Regions from separate parts of the Homo sapiens genome. Here all the other regions are linked to region 1. Evidence: promoter capture Hi-C in 16 types of primary human blood cells and fetal thymus (Javierre and others, 2016). All regions are on one chromosome and are shown on one strand. Each heading gives the region's core, a stretch centred on a gene start or on the middle of the fragment in contact. The rest is flanking DNA. Distances are from core to core; before and after follow the strand shown. Region 1 holds the start of PITX1 (paired like homeodomain 1). Region 2 overlaps MACROH2A1 (macroH2A.1 histone). Region 3 has its middle 11 kb from the start of MACROH2A1.

Region 1 (4,566 bases), core at 1,376-3,875:
GTCTTCCCTCCCTCCCTCCCTCTAGGGTTCCTGGGAACTGTCCCCACTGGAAAGCGCCCGCCGGGTGCTGGTCGTCAGTAGGCACCTCTAGTCTGGTGTGCCGCGGAGAAGAGCCCAAGAATCGGAGCTGGAGCCGCGGGCCTGCGTTCCTGGCTGGGCAGGGCCTGCACCCTTAGCTCGGCTCAGATTCTGACCCTGCTGCTGATGTTCCCAGCAAATGTATGCTTTTTGTTTGTTTGTTTTGCGAACTCTTAGGGGGTCTAAATCTGAGGGGGTCTCTGCTTTTCTGAACTAGGATCAGATCTCTCCAGCCTAAAGTCCCTCCACTTTCTTCTCCTCAGGGGTGTATGGGAGCCCCACTGGGCAGGCACAACACAGCCGGGTTCTCGGCCTTGCTTCCAGGCCTCCAGTCCCAAAGCCTAGAAAACCCCACCAACTGCAGCCCAGACAGACAGACTCTGTCTAGGTGACCTCGGGCTTTAGTCTGTCTCTCTTTGAAGCTACACAAAACACACGCAGTCATAGAAACATTAATACATAAAGAAAAAGAGTTTAAAAACAAAACACAGAAGCCCAGAAAAGCTCACAGCTCTATGCCTAAAGACACTGAAAGGGCCACAAATTCTCAAAATCAGACAGGAAGAAACACAGAGCAAATGTAAATTAAGAAGCCAGAAAGCTCCGTACAAACACACCCCTAACTAAATACAGAGCTGTAAGTGTATAAACTCCAGGTTGACAGAAGCATTTATTTCTCTGGGATTTAAAAAAATAATGTACCGTTGTAGATAGATTTTTAACTCCTTCCCAATAAGGCCCTTGTAGAGATAATTTTTAAATCCCAGAGAAACACATTATAGTTAGATAATTTAAATTCCCCAAATAACACCACTGTAAATGGATTTTGAGAAAATTCCGGAGAAACGCGCCATTTTGGATTGACTTTTTAAAATCTCCGGAAGAATAATGTTGCATGTAGATATTTTAAATTCCAGACCTACACTTCGTACGTTAATTCTTTCAGAATCGAAAGATACAGTTAAAATTAATTCATCCTCATAGATTTGGTTCAAAAAAATCAATATACGATTATATATCTCTCTAGGTTTTAAAAATAAAACCAACCAAAGACCGCGCTTAAAACTTTTGAAAACAAAAGTAGAGTTCAGCGTTGATTATGTTTTAACCAAGCAAACAACCTCTCAGAAAAATCACTTAGGGATGCAAAAGAGAAACAGATACTAAGAAAGTGGAGAGAAACATTCAGCTGTGTATTAAGAAATGAACGCAGAAGAGGCGCCCACACCGGGGAGCTCGGAGCCCCTCCGGAACCCGGCCGGCTGCGCTGGGCAGCGGATTCGCTGCCCCACTGCCCGCGCCGGCCACCCGCGGGCCCAGTTCGCTGCTGGAAAAAAGCTCCAGCTCGGACAAAAAAAGGCAGCGCGGAGGGAGACGCGCAGGAGCCGGGGCGGGGGCCAGAGCCGGGCTGCTCCGGGCTTCGGCCGCGCACGTGGGCCGGATCCCTTGATCGGCGTTCCGGCTGGCCTTGCTGGGAGTCCGGCCGCGCCTGTTGGCCCGCTCGCCCTCACCGTCCTCTGTGTCTCCCTTCTACTTGATGACCCCTCTCCCCCCGTTTACCCTTCCCGCCCGCCCCTTCTCTTTGGTCTCTTTCATTCTGTCGCCTACTGTCACGGTGTTAACCTCCCTCTCTGTCTCTCTGAGTGCGTTCTCTCGCCCGTCACCCCTCTTCCTTTCTCGGTCTCCTCCTCTCCCTTCGTCCGAGCCGCTCCTTAGCGCCCAGTTGCGCAAATCAAATTCTTTCCCGTTCTATTTACTCCTGATCAAGAGGGGCTGTCAGTCCAACCCTCCAGCTGTAGGCTCGTGCATCTGCCAGTCTCTTGGCGCGTGGGGACCGCGTGGAAGTGCCTTCGCGTGTGCGTAAGTTTCCGCGTTCACCGTCAGGTCGAGAACGGGAAAAAGAAAGCTCCTGACGCTTCTGGGGCGGAGAGGGAGCTTGGTTGCGCGGCGCGGGCGTCAGGCCCTGCTCCCAGCTCCCCGTGCTCCGCGCCCGGGTAGGCTCTGTGCGCGCCGCGCGGGGAACGGCGCTTACCTGGCAGCTCCGTGTCAGACGACTCGCTGGCGGAGTTCTCGAGCGGCTCGCGGGGGTCGGCGGGCCGGGCCAGGTGGAAGGCGGGCCCCATGTCATGGGGTGGCGGCGGCGGCGGCCGGAGCCCCTCCGGCAGCCGCTCCAGGCTCATGCCCCCCTTGAAGGCGTCCATGGAGGTGGGGACCGCGGCGGGCGCTCCAGGGGCCGGGGCTGGGCGCGCCCCGCCGCCCTGGCTGCGACCTGCGGGGACAAGAGCGCAGCGCCTAAGCGGCTGCCCTCCAGGGCTGCCGGCGCCTGCAGCGACGCCGTGCCCGCCCCATGGACCGCCCGGGGCTGCGGCGCCGGGCGGGCAGAGGCGGCGGCAGCTTCTCGCGACTGGGCGCCTGGCTCAGCGCTCCGCGCTGCGCTCCTGCCGCTCGGGCCTCAGCAGCCCGGCCGGCCCCGGCTCCGGCTCCGGCTCCGGCTCGCGATCCGGGGCCGGTTTCTAAGGCTCCGGACGGCGCCGGCAGAGTCTGTCTTAAAGCGACAGCGCGCACAGCCAGGTTCCAGCAGTCCCTGCGCCAGGGGTGCTGGGTGGGGTGGGCCTGGGTGGGAGGGGGCTGGGGAGGGAGCGAGCGAGCGAGGGAGCGCGGGCGGAATCCAGCCCCAAGCCGCCCGCGCCGCCGCGCCCTCACTGCCGCCCTCCCTCCCTCCCTGCCTCGCCCGCGCCCTCCCCCTCCGCAGCCACCTTCCCGCCGCCTCCCCGCCCCCCGCGGCCTCGCCGCGCCTCTCCCTCCTTCCCCGGTGACACACCGAGTTCTCCCTCGGCCTCACAAAAGAAACGCATCTGGCCTGCGAGTCCCGGGCGGCTCGTGCACACCTCAGGCCTCAAATGACTTGTTTCGCCTAGAATCAACTCCCGTCTCGGCCGCCTCGAAGTCCCCAGCCCTGGCGAGAACAGCCCAGGATGAGTGAATGTTTGCCGAACAGGATCGCACCGAGCGGGCGCCTTCGAGCCAGCGCCGGGGCGGGGGCAGAGCCCGGGGCCCGTTCCGGCAGCTCCCAGCGGTGTCCTCGTCGAGGGGCCGCCTGCCCCTCCTTCTCCAGCCTCTTCTCCCGGGAACTCAGCCCGGCTGAGTGACAGCAGCCTGCGCTCTAATGGGCCCCCGGATGCTGCCTCCTAATTAGCTTGGACCTTCTCCCCTACGGCTGCTTCTCAGGCCTCCCTCTCTGCACCGCAGTCAATTTTCCGGGATTGGGATAGAAATGATGGCTTCTAATCAGACGAAACGTTTCTGCTGGCTCTAGGCGTTTGGAGAATGCAGAAGGAAGACCCCAAGGATCCCAGCCAGACCCCACAGCCTCTTGTACCTCTCCCCTTGTTTTACACCTTAGGCCTTGGCCAAATGGGCCAGGCCTGGCCTTGGCAGGCATGGGGTTGGCCTTGGCAGCCTTTGCCCTCCTTCAGGGTAGCTTTGTCCCAGCCTGGGGCCTGCGTCCTGGCTTCCCAGGGCTTCAGGCATAGGCCTGGTAAGCCAGGTGACTGCTGTCTCCCAACCCTGGGCCAGCAGCCCAGGAAGCCCTCAGTCTTCCAGCTTCTCTCCCACACAGTGGTAGCTGAGCTGCAGCTCCAATGGGCCTTCACTGGGCACAGGCAAAGACATTACTCTCCCACTCCTAAGAGTGATTCCCTCCTCGAGTCCTTGCACGTAGGTGAAGTTTGTCGAAGGATTTTGCTCAACAATTGTTAGCTGGCCCCGAGACCTCAGCGTCTTGAGCAAACAGGCCACAGCTGGGGCGGCAAGGCGCCGCCCTGACCTGCTCCTCTGGCCATAGGCGGACCCCAGACTGCCCTCTGCCCCTCACCTGTGATCAGCTCCACCAGACACAGCAACCCAAGGGAGCTGCGCCAGGATTGTCTGCCTGGGAAAGAAGCAGGGAGGTGTCCAGTGTCCTCACCCCAAAACCCAGTGCCTCCTCAACTCCTGGGTGGGTGGCACTGACTGTGCAGGTATCAGCGTCTGGGGCACTCTGCAGGTTCTGCCTTTGAGTCCTCGTCTTACCCCTTCCCATCACAGGGAGACACCCAGGGTCAGCTGAGCTCCTTGTGGGGGCTGCTGGGGCCAGGGTCGGGCATGCAGGGTGGAACCAGGCCTGCCTTCCATTCCCTCCACGTTAGTCCAAAGCACCCCCACCCCTACCCCCATCCCCATCCCCATCCCCATCCCCATCCCCATCCCCATCCCCCGCTCTGGGCCGTGGAGAGACAGCACAGCTCCTTAGGGCCTGGTCCTTTCTCACTGTGGGTCTGTGACCACAGGATGCAGGGTCTGAGGCCAGAGGGAGGACACTTCTCAGGGGTTTGGATTGGGGAGGCTCAGTGACTCCTGCCTTCTTCCAAGCTGAGATCTCCCTCCATGAAATGAGTCTTGGCTACGGGGAGGGGAACATGGGGAAGCACAGTTGCCCAGCATTTGCCC
Region 2 (4,482 bases), core at 529-3,028, 300 kb after region 1:
CCCGATGTTCTGCCTAGCTGAGCTAGCCCTGGGGCAGGGCTTCTGTAGCTGCAGCCGGGCTGCATGCCCAGGCAGCTGTCTCCAACAACGGTTAGCTACATCCCACACAAGCTGGGTGAGATGTGGTATGATGCAGACACAGTGTAGCCTGGCCCATGCCCATGCCATGCCATGCTGACTGGGAGGTCCCAAGGGGTCTCCCTGGAACACACCAAAAGTGTGCCAGTCACTCCTGCCTGTGACCAGTGCTTTCTGACACAGACCCCTCCTGAGGCTTTCCTTGCCTCTGCCTTGGACCCTTACAAAAGAGTATGTGACTTTCAGTGAGGAAATATTCTTTTCTATTCCTCTACATCAATAGTTCTCAAGCTTTAGCCTGCATCAGAATTCTGGAGAGCTTGTCAAAACACAACAGTTTGATTCAGCAGGTCTAGCAGCTTTTGAGAACTGCTGTTCTACAAATAGCCAGCATGGACTTTATAATCCAAGCTGGCAGGGTGGACCCAGATGTTGAGGATCTGCAAGTGGGGGAGAGAGGTCAGTATCAAATGTTTTAGACTTGCAGTGCCCACACCTGCCTACCGTCCCGTTAATAGAGAGCAGACGGTTCCACCGGAATGTCCCTGGCCTTGCAAGCATTTCAGGGTTGTTGGTGGGTGAACATGAATCTGGATTTGTTTCCAGGACAACCCTTTGTTGACAAATCCATCCCTCTGTCCTAGGAAGCTACAGCCTAAGGAAGAAACCCTGCTATGGGACTGTGGCTGCTCTGGACTGCGCAGGCTGCCAGGAAGGAATGGCGGAGGTAACGGCTTTCCTAACGTTTTCTGGTGGGCCTCAAAATGTCTTGCTGCCAGTTAGAATGCTTGTAGCAAAATGGAATGTGTAGGTGGATGCCCTGCAAGAGCACTCCACACACAGCCCTGCAGCCTCCAGACAGAGGCAGCGGTGGCACATGCAGCAGCTGAGGCAGGTCAGACCCAGGTCTGCCTCTGAGGCTTGGGTGGCCTGACAGCCCTACTCCCTCCAGGGTAGAGAAGCAGAGTGGTTAAGAGCTCAGGATTTCCCGGAGTCACACAGGATTTGAGTTGTGGTCCCACTTCGGTGCCTTGTTTCCCCATCCTGTGAAATGGAATCAGAGTCTGGGACAAGAAAATGCAAAGCACCGGGGCATGGCACAGAGAGTCTTCAGTTAAGAGGAGCTGTCTATAAAGTAGGTGGCTTTGAAGGGTCTTTTAAAAGGCTCATGCAGTAGAAAACTGCCCCTTCCACCCTCGTCCCTGGGATAGCTGTGACTGGGTAACTGCTGTTGTCGTTGCAGTTACACGGTGCTAACAATGTTGGCCTCAGACCCCAGAGAGCTGCTGGCCGTGACCGTGGGCATGCAGCAGCAGGGGCTACATAGAGGCTCCCCAGTGCAGTACTGACTGCTTTCAGGAGCAGTCATGCCCACTGGTGTTGCATCTTTGGCTTCTCAGCTGGGTTCACTTGCTACTTGCATAACCACGGCCCCTCTGAATAGCCATTCCTGCCTGGCCTGGCCTCTGTGCCAGCCACTCTGTCCTACAGCTGTGCTGCCTATCTTTCAGATCAGATGTTGCAGAGCAAGAGGGACTAAGGGCTTCCACTCTAGAGTCAGAATTGGGTTTGAATCCCAGCTGCTTTGGGCCAGGGTGTTAACCTCTCTAAGCATTAATTTCCTCCACTAGAAATTAGGTGTTTCAGGGGTCTGTGCAGTGATGACAATGGTGGTGATGATGAGGCTGCCAGTACTGCGGCCACCATCAGCCCCACCTGGGAGATGCGTGCACTGTTTGTTGTTTCCACTCTCTCTTCAGCCCCTGACCTGGCCTGTGGGTTGTGTTTATGGCATGTTCCTTAAGTTCCTCTGGAGTCAAGAGTTTCCTACACCATAGGGCTAGGACCTTAAGCAGACTAAAGAGACATCTGAGCTTTCCCTAAATTCACTCCAGTTGTGTCTGTAATGCCCTTTGCCTTTCCCAAGAGTCCTGGACCTCAGTTTCCCAGGGCCAGTGCAAGATGCCCTCTTGGGTCAGCCTCCTCAGTAATGGCTGGGGGGTGTACGCATTGGATGCTTGTCCCACGGTCCTGTCTGGACACGCAGGGACTCTAGGTGCACCAAGGACCACATCCCAGCTCTTCTCAGCCCTCTCCTTGAGTGGGACTTCACTAAGCACCCCTGCTCTCAGTGAGCTCACCTTCCAGGGCTGGGGCCAGGCAGGTATGCAGCAAATCCAGGCTAGGAGCTCATTAGGGACCTCAGAGAGTCACAGCAGGAGAGGCTGTATCCTGGGAGTCCAGGGAGATTTTTCTGGAGCAGACAGATTGCGAGCTTGCAATTGACGGCTGGGGAGGAGTAGAGGTGGATTCTGGTATTCTTTGTCTGTCACTTAGGGTATAGACATTCTTCTGCTAAGATTAGGTCCCCCTCGCACTGTGCTGTGGGCTGCTCTTAGGCCTTTACCATTTTTTAGTAATTGCCAGGTTGAAGTTGCCCCAGCCACAGGCCACTTTGATCCAAGTCATCAGGATCCTGAGCCGAGAGCAATGGTATACAGGAGGGAGAACATTCAGAAGCGATGGTGATGGGGCCACCACTCCCCTGAGCTGTGCCCCCTGCAGCTAGAGAGGGGATGGGGCAGCCCCAAAGTGGCCTCCCACTCCAGGCCCCCGGGCTTTGGGTAAATGAAAAATTCTCCCCCATTCAAAGGTCTCTTGAGTTTCTGTCCTTTTATCTCACCTCTGAGGCCAATGCTTAGGAGGGGAAAGAGGCTGATGGCTATACTTGGGCAGGTCAGGGAGTTCCCAGGTAGTGTTTTATGCACAGAGAGTACGCAGGCAGGGGGCAGTCCTATGGTGGGATGAGGTGGTGGGACCTGGGGTCTGGCTGACCAATGGAGATGGGAGGCAGGGGTTCCATGAGCCTAACAGCTCTGAAGCGAAGGGCTTCTGATCAAATTCTCACTCTACCAAGTACAAGTTGAGTGACCTCAGATGATTTACTTAACCCCTCTATGCTTCAGTTTCTTTGCCCTTGAAAGGAATAATGCTGTTCACCTTGTAGGGTTGCTGTGAGATAATGCAGATAAAGGGTTTAGCACCGCGCCTGGGGCTCAACACATACCCATAAATAGTAGCTTGAAAAAAATAAACCAGCTTTTCCTTTTAAGCTTATAAATCTAAGGAAAGTTTAATCAAAGCCCCAAACTAGTATTCCCTATGTACTACCCCTCTGGAGAGGGGTCACCCCTAATGTGAAACAGAGCTGAGGGAGTGGGGGTATCCATAAATATCGTGACCAGAATGGCTGAGGACAGGATGTCCAGATGCCAGGGCCTCACAGGCTGGAGGGAGCCATCACACAGGTGTGGTTATGGTCATCTTCCATCCATGTAGGCTGTGCCACTGGGCCTCAGCTAAGAGAGTGATCCTTTACCAATGGCTCTTTCCCAACATGCTTACCTTTATACTGTTTTAATTCCAACATTACTTCCGTGCCAGAGACACTGGATGCAACAAACAAGCTGTTTTATTTCCCCTCCTAAAACCCACTGTGATTTACTGGCCGGCTCTGGTGTAATCCCATTTTTTTTTACTCATGAAAGAGAGGGCAGCTGTTTACACAGCTCTATGGGGTGAGGTCTGCCTGGCAGATGTGGCCTGGGTAGCTGTACACATGTGCTGCCTTAGGCATTTCCCCCTCTTCAAGCTTTCAATTGATTATTTTTATTCCTACTTTTTACTCCATGAAAAATGTAAATAAGTTTGTAATAACAGATGCTCTTTTATGAGAATTACTTTTATGCTTCAATTAAAAATTTCCCAATACCCATATGAAAGGTTGTGAAATTATTACCTCCAATAAAGTTTCCTATTGCCTCCCTCTGCGGAAGCACCTTTCATCAGAGCAGATCAAAGTGCATTGAAAGCACTAATTAACTGAGCCTCAGAACCATTTGTGAGGATGGGCAGTCCCTATAGCCTCACTTGCTGATAAGGCAGACCAGGGCAGAGAGGCTGATTCATTTAACCAAAGGTCACACAGGATAGGAGAGCTGAGGGGCCTCACTCACAGAACCCCAGGACCAGACAGCCCAGAGATGTGAGGCCAGGGAAGGGGGAGGCAAGCCTGCCCATAGCTCAACAACTGGTGAGGGGTTGCTGGGGAAATGCTCATTCTGCTGTTTTGCCCTTGACTGGGAGAAGTGGGGGTGGCGGCGGGTGGCGGGCAGTGATACAGGCTCCAGAGAAGGTTCAGGTGCAACCAGAGATCTTTCCCCAGAGCCTGGTACTGGTGGGTCCTGCCAGTCACACATGGCCTTGGCCATAGAAAGCCCTGGGGAACGGTGGCAGTGCCCATCTGCCTGTGGACAAGGCCTTTTACTAGGCAGAATGTCAAGTGACAGGAAGCCCACTCTGTACTAGTTCTGCCACCAGTACTTGAGGTGTGGGACCTCAGTG
Region 3 (4,474 bases), core at 1,414-3,913, 380 kb after region 1:
CTCCTGTGTATGTCTATTTGCTTGAGTACCGTTTGCAAAAAAGGCTGTCCTTCCTCCATTGCATTGGTTTTGCACCTTTGTCAAAAATGAGTTAGGCGTCCCTCTCCCTCTCCCTCTCCCTCTCCCTGCCTCTGCCTCTCCCTCTCCCCACGGTCTGCCTCTGCCTCTGCCTCTCCCTCTCCCCACGGTCTCCCTCTCCCTCTCTTTCCACGGTCTCCCTCTGATGCCGAGCCGAAGCTGGACTGTACTGCTGCCATCTCCGCTCACTGCAACCTCCCTGCCTGATTCTCCTGCCTCAGCCTGCCGAGTGCCTGCGATTGCAGGCGCGCGCCGCCACACCTGACTGGTTTTCGTATTTTTTTGGTGGAGACGGGGTTTCGCTGTGTTGGCCGGGCTGGTCTCCAGCTCCTAACCGCGAGTGATCTGCCAGCCACGGCCTCCCGAGGTGCCGGTATTGCGGACGGAGTCTCGTTCACTCAGTGCTCAATGTTGCCCAGGCTGGAGTGCAGTGGCGTGATCTCGGCTCGCTACAACCTCCACCTCCCAGCAGCCTACCTTGGCCTCCCAAAGTGCAGAGATTGCAGCCTCTGCCCGGCCGCCACCCCGTCTGGGAAGTGAGGAGCGTCTCTGCCTGGCCGCCCATCGTCTTGGACGTGAGGAGCCCCTCTGCCTGGCTACCCAGTCTGGAAAGTGCCCGGCCGCCATCCCATCTAGGAAGTGAGGAGCACCTCTTCCCGGCCGCCTTCCCATCTAGGAAGTGAGGAGCATCTCTGCCCGGCCGCCCATCGTCTGAGATGTGGGGAGCGCCTCTGCCCCGCCGCCCCGTCTGGGATGTGAGGAGCGCCTCTGCCCGGCCGCCCCGTCTGAGAAGTGAGGAGCCCCTCCGCCCGGCAGCCGCCCCGTGTAGGAAGTGAGGAGCGTCTCCACCCGGCAGCTGCCCCGTCCAGGAGGGAGGCGGTGGGCAGCCCCCGCCCGGCCAGCCGCCCCGTCCGGGAGGGAGGTGGGGGGCGCCTCTGCCCGGCCGCCCCTTCTGGGAAGTGAGGAGCCCCTCTGCCCGGCCGCCACCCCGTCTGGGAGGTGTACCCAACAGCTCATTGAGAACGGGCCATGATGACGATGGCAGTTTTGTCGAATAGAAAAGGGGGAAATGTGGGGAAAAGATAGAGAAATCAGATTGTTGCTGTGTCTGTGTAGAAAGAAGTAGACATAGGAGACTCCATTTTGTTCTGTATTAAGAAAAATTCTTCTGCCTTGGGATGCTGTTATCTATGACCTTACCCCCAACCCTGTGCTCTCTGAAACATGTGCTGTGTCCGCTCAGGGTTAAATGGATTAAGGGCAGTGCAGGATGTGCTTTGTTAAACAGATGCTTGAAGGCAGCATGCTCGTTGAGAGTCATCACCACTCCCTAATCTCAAGTACCCAGGGACACAAACACTGCGGAAGGCCGCAGGGTCCTCTGCCTAGGAAAACCAGAGACCTTTGTTCACTTGTTTATCTGCTGACCTTCCCTCCACTATTGTCCTATGACCCTGCCAAATCCCCCTCTGCGAGAAACACCCAAGAATGATCAATTAAAAAAAAAATGAGTTAGGCATATTGCTGTGGGTCTATTTCTGAGTTCTCTATTCTGTTCCAATGGCCCATGTGTCTGTCCCTCTGCCAATATCAGTCCATGTCTTCATTACTGGAGCTATGTATTAGGCCTTAATACCAGGAGAGTGGTTACTTCTGCTTTGTTCTTTTTTTGTCAAGATTGTCTTAGCTATTTTAGAACCTATGAGTTTCTATATATTAAAATAAGCTTGTCTATATCTGCAAAAAACCCTTGGGATTTTGATAGAAATTTCATTAAACCTATAGATCAGTTTTGGAGAAATGGACATCTTTACTATGTTGGGTCTTCTGATCCATGGACACAGTATATCTCCCCATTTATTTAGGCATTCTTTGGTTCTTTTATCAGTTAATTGTTTTTTGATAAATAGAAATTTCTAGATTTAATGTAGTCCATCCAATTTATTAGGTTTTTTTTATGATTAACACATTTTGTGTGCTGTTTAAGAAATCTTTGCCTACCCTCTATCAGTCATCAACCTTTGAGTAAGATGAGTAGGTCATGGCAACCCAACATTCTTACTGTGACAACATTTCACTGTGACATTTTTACTGTGTAAAAAGTTGTGTACTTTAAAAAAAGGCATCAAAGGGCTCTGGAAGCAACAAGTACAATATGAATTTAAATTGCAGAGGGGGTGAACTGATGATTACTAGCAGCTTCCTTCCCTAGGGGCCTTTTCCGATTATAGGCTCAGACTGAAGTTTGGATCTAACTCATGCAGAGAGACTGTATGGAAGGAATAGAACCCAGCAAGGCTTTTGGTGGCTGCACAGGATTCATATGACAGATTGGAGACTTGCAGAGCCCCCAGACATGTTTGCATTTCCCATAGAACACTTGATAAGTTCTGAGGCTTGTGTGTAGGAGGCTGAGAAGTCCGGCAGAGTGTTTCTAACAGGCAAAATACAATTTCCTGTAGTTTGGTGCTCAAGAGACAAAGTCCTGCTAGAGGAAGAGATCCTGTCTCAAAAACCCACCCAGTCTAAAAAGGCTTCACGACATTTGTCAGATTTTGCAGTTGTATGGAGCATGAGGATACAAAATTAAACTCAACACTTTCAAAGAGCTGAAATGAATTTCCCACAGTCTTTCAAGGGTAAGAGAACAGAGACCCTCTAGATCTCAGTGAAAAAAATAGGCAAAACTTACTTATTTTGACAGTCATAATAGTGATTTTTTTGGGTGTAACTGGAAGGGATCATGAAGGATCTTGTTGGGTATATGAAAACTGTCATCAATTTTTTAAGACTTGTGTACTTTACTGTATATAAGTTATAGCTCAATTAAAAAATAAAAACACTTCTAAAAAGAAAGCAGAAAAACGTATCTTTCACACTTTGCAATCCATCTGGAATACAAAAATATGATATAAGATATCATTTTATCTAATTTTTCCAGCACCAGTTAATGAATAATTATACTTTCCCCGTTGCACCGTAGTGTCATTGATCAAGTGACAGTGGATTTGTTTCTGGACTCTCTACTTGTCTTAGTTTGCCTGGACCATCATAACAAAACATAAACTAGGTGGCTTAAACAACAGAAATTTATTTCTCACACTTCTGGAGACTGGGAAATGCAAGATCAAGATGTCGGCTTATTCAATTTCTGTTGAGGGCTCTCTGGCTTGAAGTAAAATTGTTCAGATACTCTCTTACCCTTTTAATACAGCATTTGTAGTGCTGTCTTCCTTGTTGTTACTGGTACTGATAACCTGGGATTTCTCTCTTTTGTCTCAATTGATATTTCTAAGGGTTTATCAGTTTTTCAAAGAACCTACTTTTGGCTTTATTTAATTTCTCTATTAAAGTTTTTCTACTTAATTAAATTTCAGCTCCTCTTTCCTTCTTTCTACTTTCATTGGATTTAACACACTGTTCTTTTTACATCTTATTAAGATACAAGCTTAGGTAATTGATCTTTTTTACTTTCTAATATATGTAGTTAGAATTATAAATTTTTATCTGATTTTGTTGTATTCTATAAGTTTTGATACATAGCATCTTCATTATTATTAAGTTCATAATATTTTCTCGTTCAGCTGTAATTTCTTCTTTAAACTATATATTATTTTTGAAGTACATGTTTGATTTTTAGACCTGTGGATTTTGCTATTTACTTCTAGCTTAATTTAGTTGTACTCAGAGATTATACTATGGATGCTTGTAAACACTGGAATATTGTTGAGCCTCTTTTTGCTTCAACTCATGGACCTATTTTGTCACAAATTTTATGTGCACTTGAAAATAATGTAAATTCTATCATTGTTGGCTGCAATGATTTATATATGTCAATTAGCTCTAGCTTTTTTAAATTGTGTTTTTCAAACTTTGAATGTCCATACTGACTTTTTTGGTCTAGTTATTCTATCAGGTTTTGAGAATAGTGTGTTAAAGTCTTCCATTGTGACTGTAGGCTTGTCTATTTCTCTTTGGGTTCTGTCAGTTTTGCTTTAATATATATTGAAACCGTATTTTACACTGGGTTCTGTCAGTTTTGGTTTTATATATACTGAAATCATATTATTAATTATATACTGGGTTCTGTCAGTTTTGGTTTTATATATACTGAAATCATATTATTAATTATATACTGCTATATGTAATATATGTGTGTGGCATACTCCTAGTGAATTGATCTTCTTATCATTATGAAATTTTCCTTTTTTGTTTTGATAACGTTTCTTGAAATTGATTTGGTCTGATGTCGGCATTGCTATATCAGCTTTCTTTTAGGGTTTGTATGGTCTATTTTTTCAGTCATTTGTTTTAAAACTTTTTGTGTCCTCATATTTAAAGTTTGTCTGTTGCAGTTGGATTAATATCGCCATCTTACCATTTGATTTTTAATTGA

What was found. Contacts are between HindIII fragments. The CHiCAGO score rates a contact against its expected background, and 5 or more counts as called.
Region 2: a fragment that was not itself captured here is called in contact with the fragment with the promoter of PITX1 in region 1 in 1 of 17 cell types (endothelial precursors); the score reaches 5.9 in endothelial precursors.
Region 3: a contact is called between a fragment that was not itself captured here and the fragment with the promoter of PITX1 in region 1, in 1 of 17 cell types (endothelial precursors). The highest score is 5.9, in endothelial precursors.

Annotation. Positions count from the first base shown.
Region 1 is chr5:135,031,603-135,036,168 of GRCh38, forward strand. It overlaps PITX1 (paired like homeodomain 1), which reads right to left and starts at 2,626. Exons shown (of 3, transcript NM_002653.5): 1 at 2,111-2,626. The coding sequence starts at 2,279. It overlaps PITX1-AS1 (PITX1 antisense RNA 1), which reads left to right and starts at 1,672. Exons shown (of 6, transcript NR_161235.1): 1 at 1,672-1,938. RefSeq lists a silencer at 132-339 and an enhancer at 1,510-2,142. The HindIII fragment of the contact is 7,456 bases long and covers 1-4,566 here.
Region 2 is chr5:135,337,209-135,341,690 of GRCh38, forward strand. The region is part of intron 8 of MACROH2A1 (macroH2A.1 histone); the gene reads right to left. It overlaps PITX1-AS1 (PITX1 antisense RNA 1), which reads left to right. Exons shown (of 6, transcript NR_161235.1): 5 at 723-805. Among named protein-coding and RNA genes, the nearest start is that of MACROH2A1, 60 kb to the right of the region's middle. The HindIII fragment of the contact is 2,822 bases long and covers 368-3,189 here.
Region 3 is chr5:135,408,398-135,412,871 of GRCh38, forward strand. No RefSeq gene overlaps it. Among named protein-coding and RNA genes, the nearest start is that of MACROH2A1, 11 kb to the left of the region's middle. The HindIII fragment of the contact is 1,722 bases long and covers 1,803-3,524 here.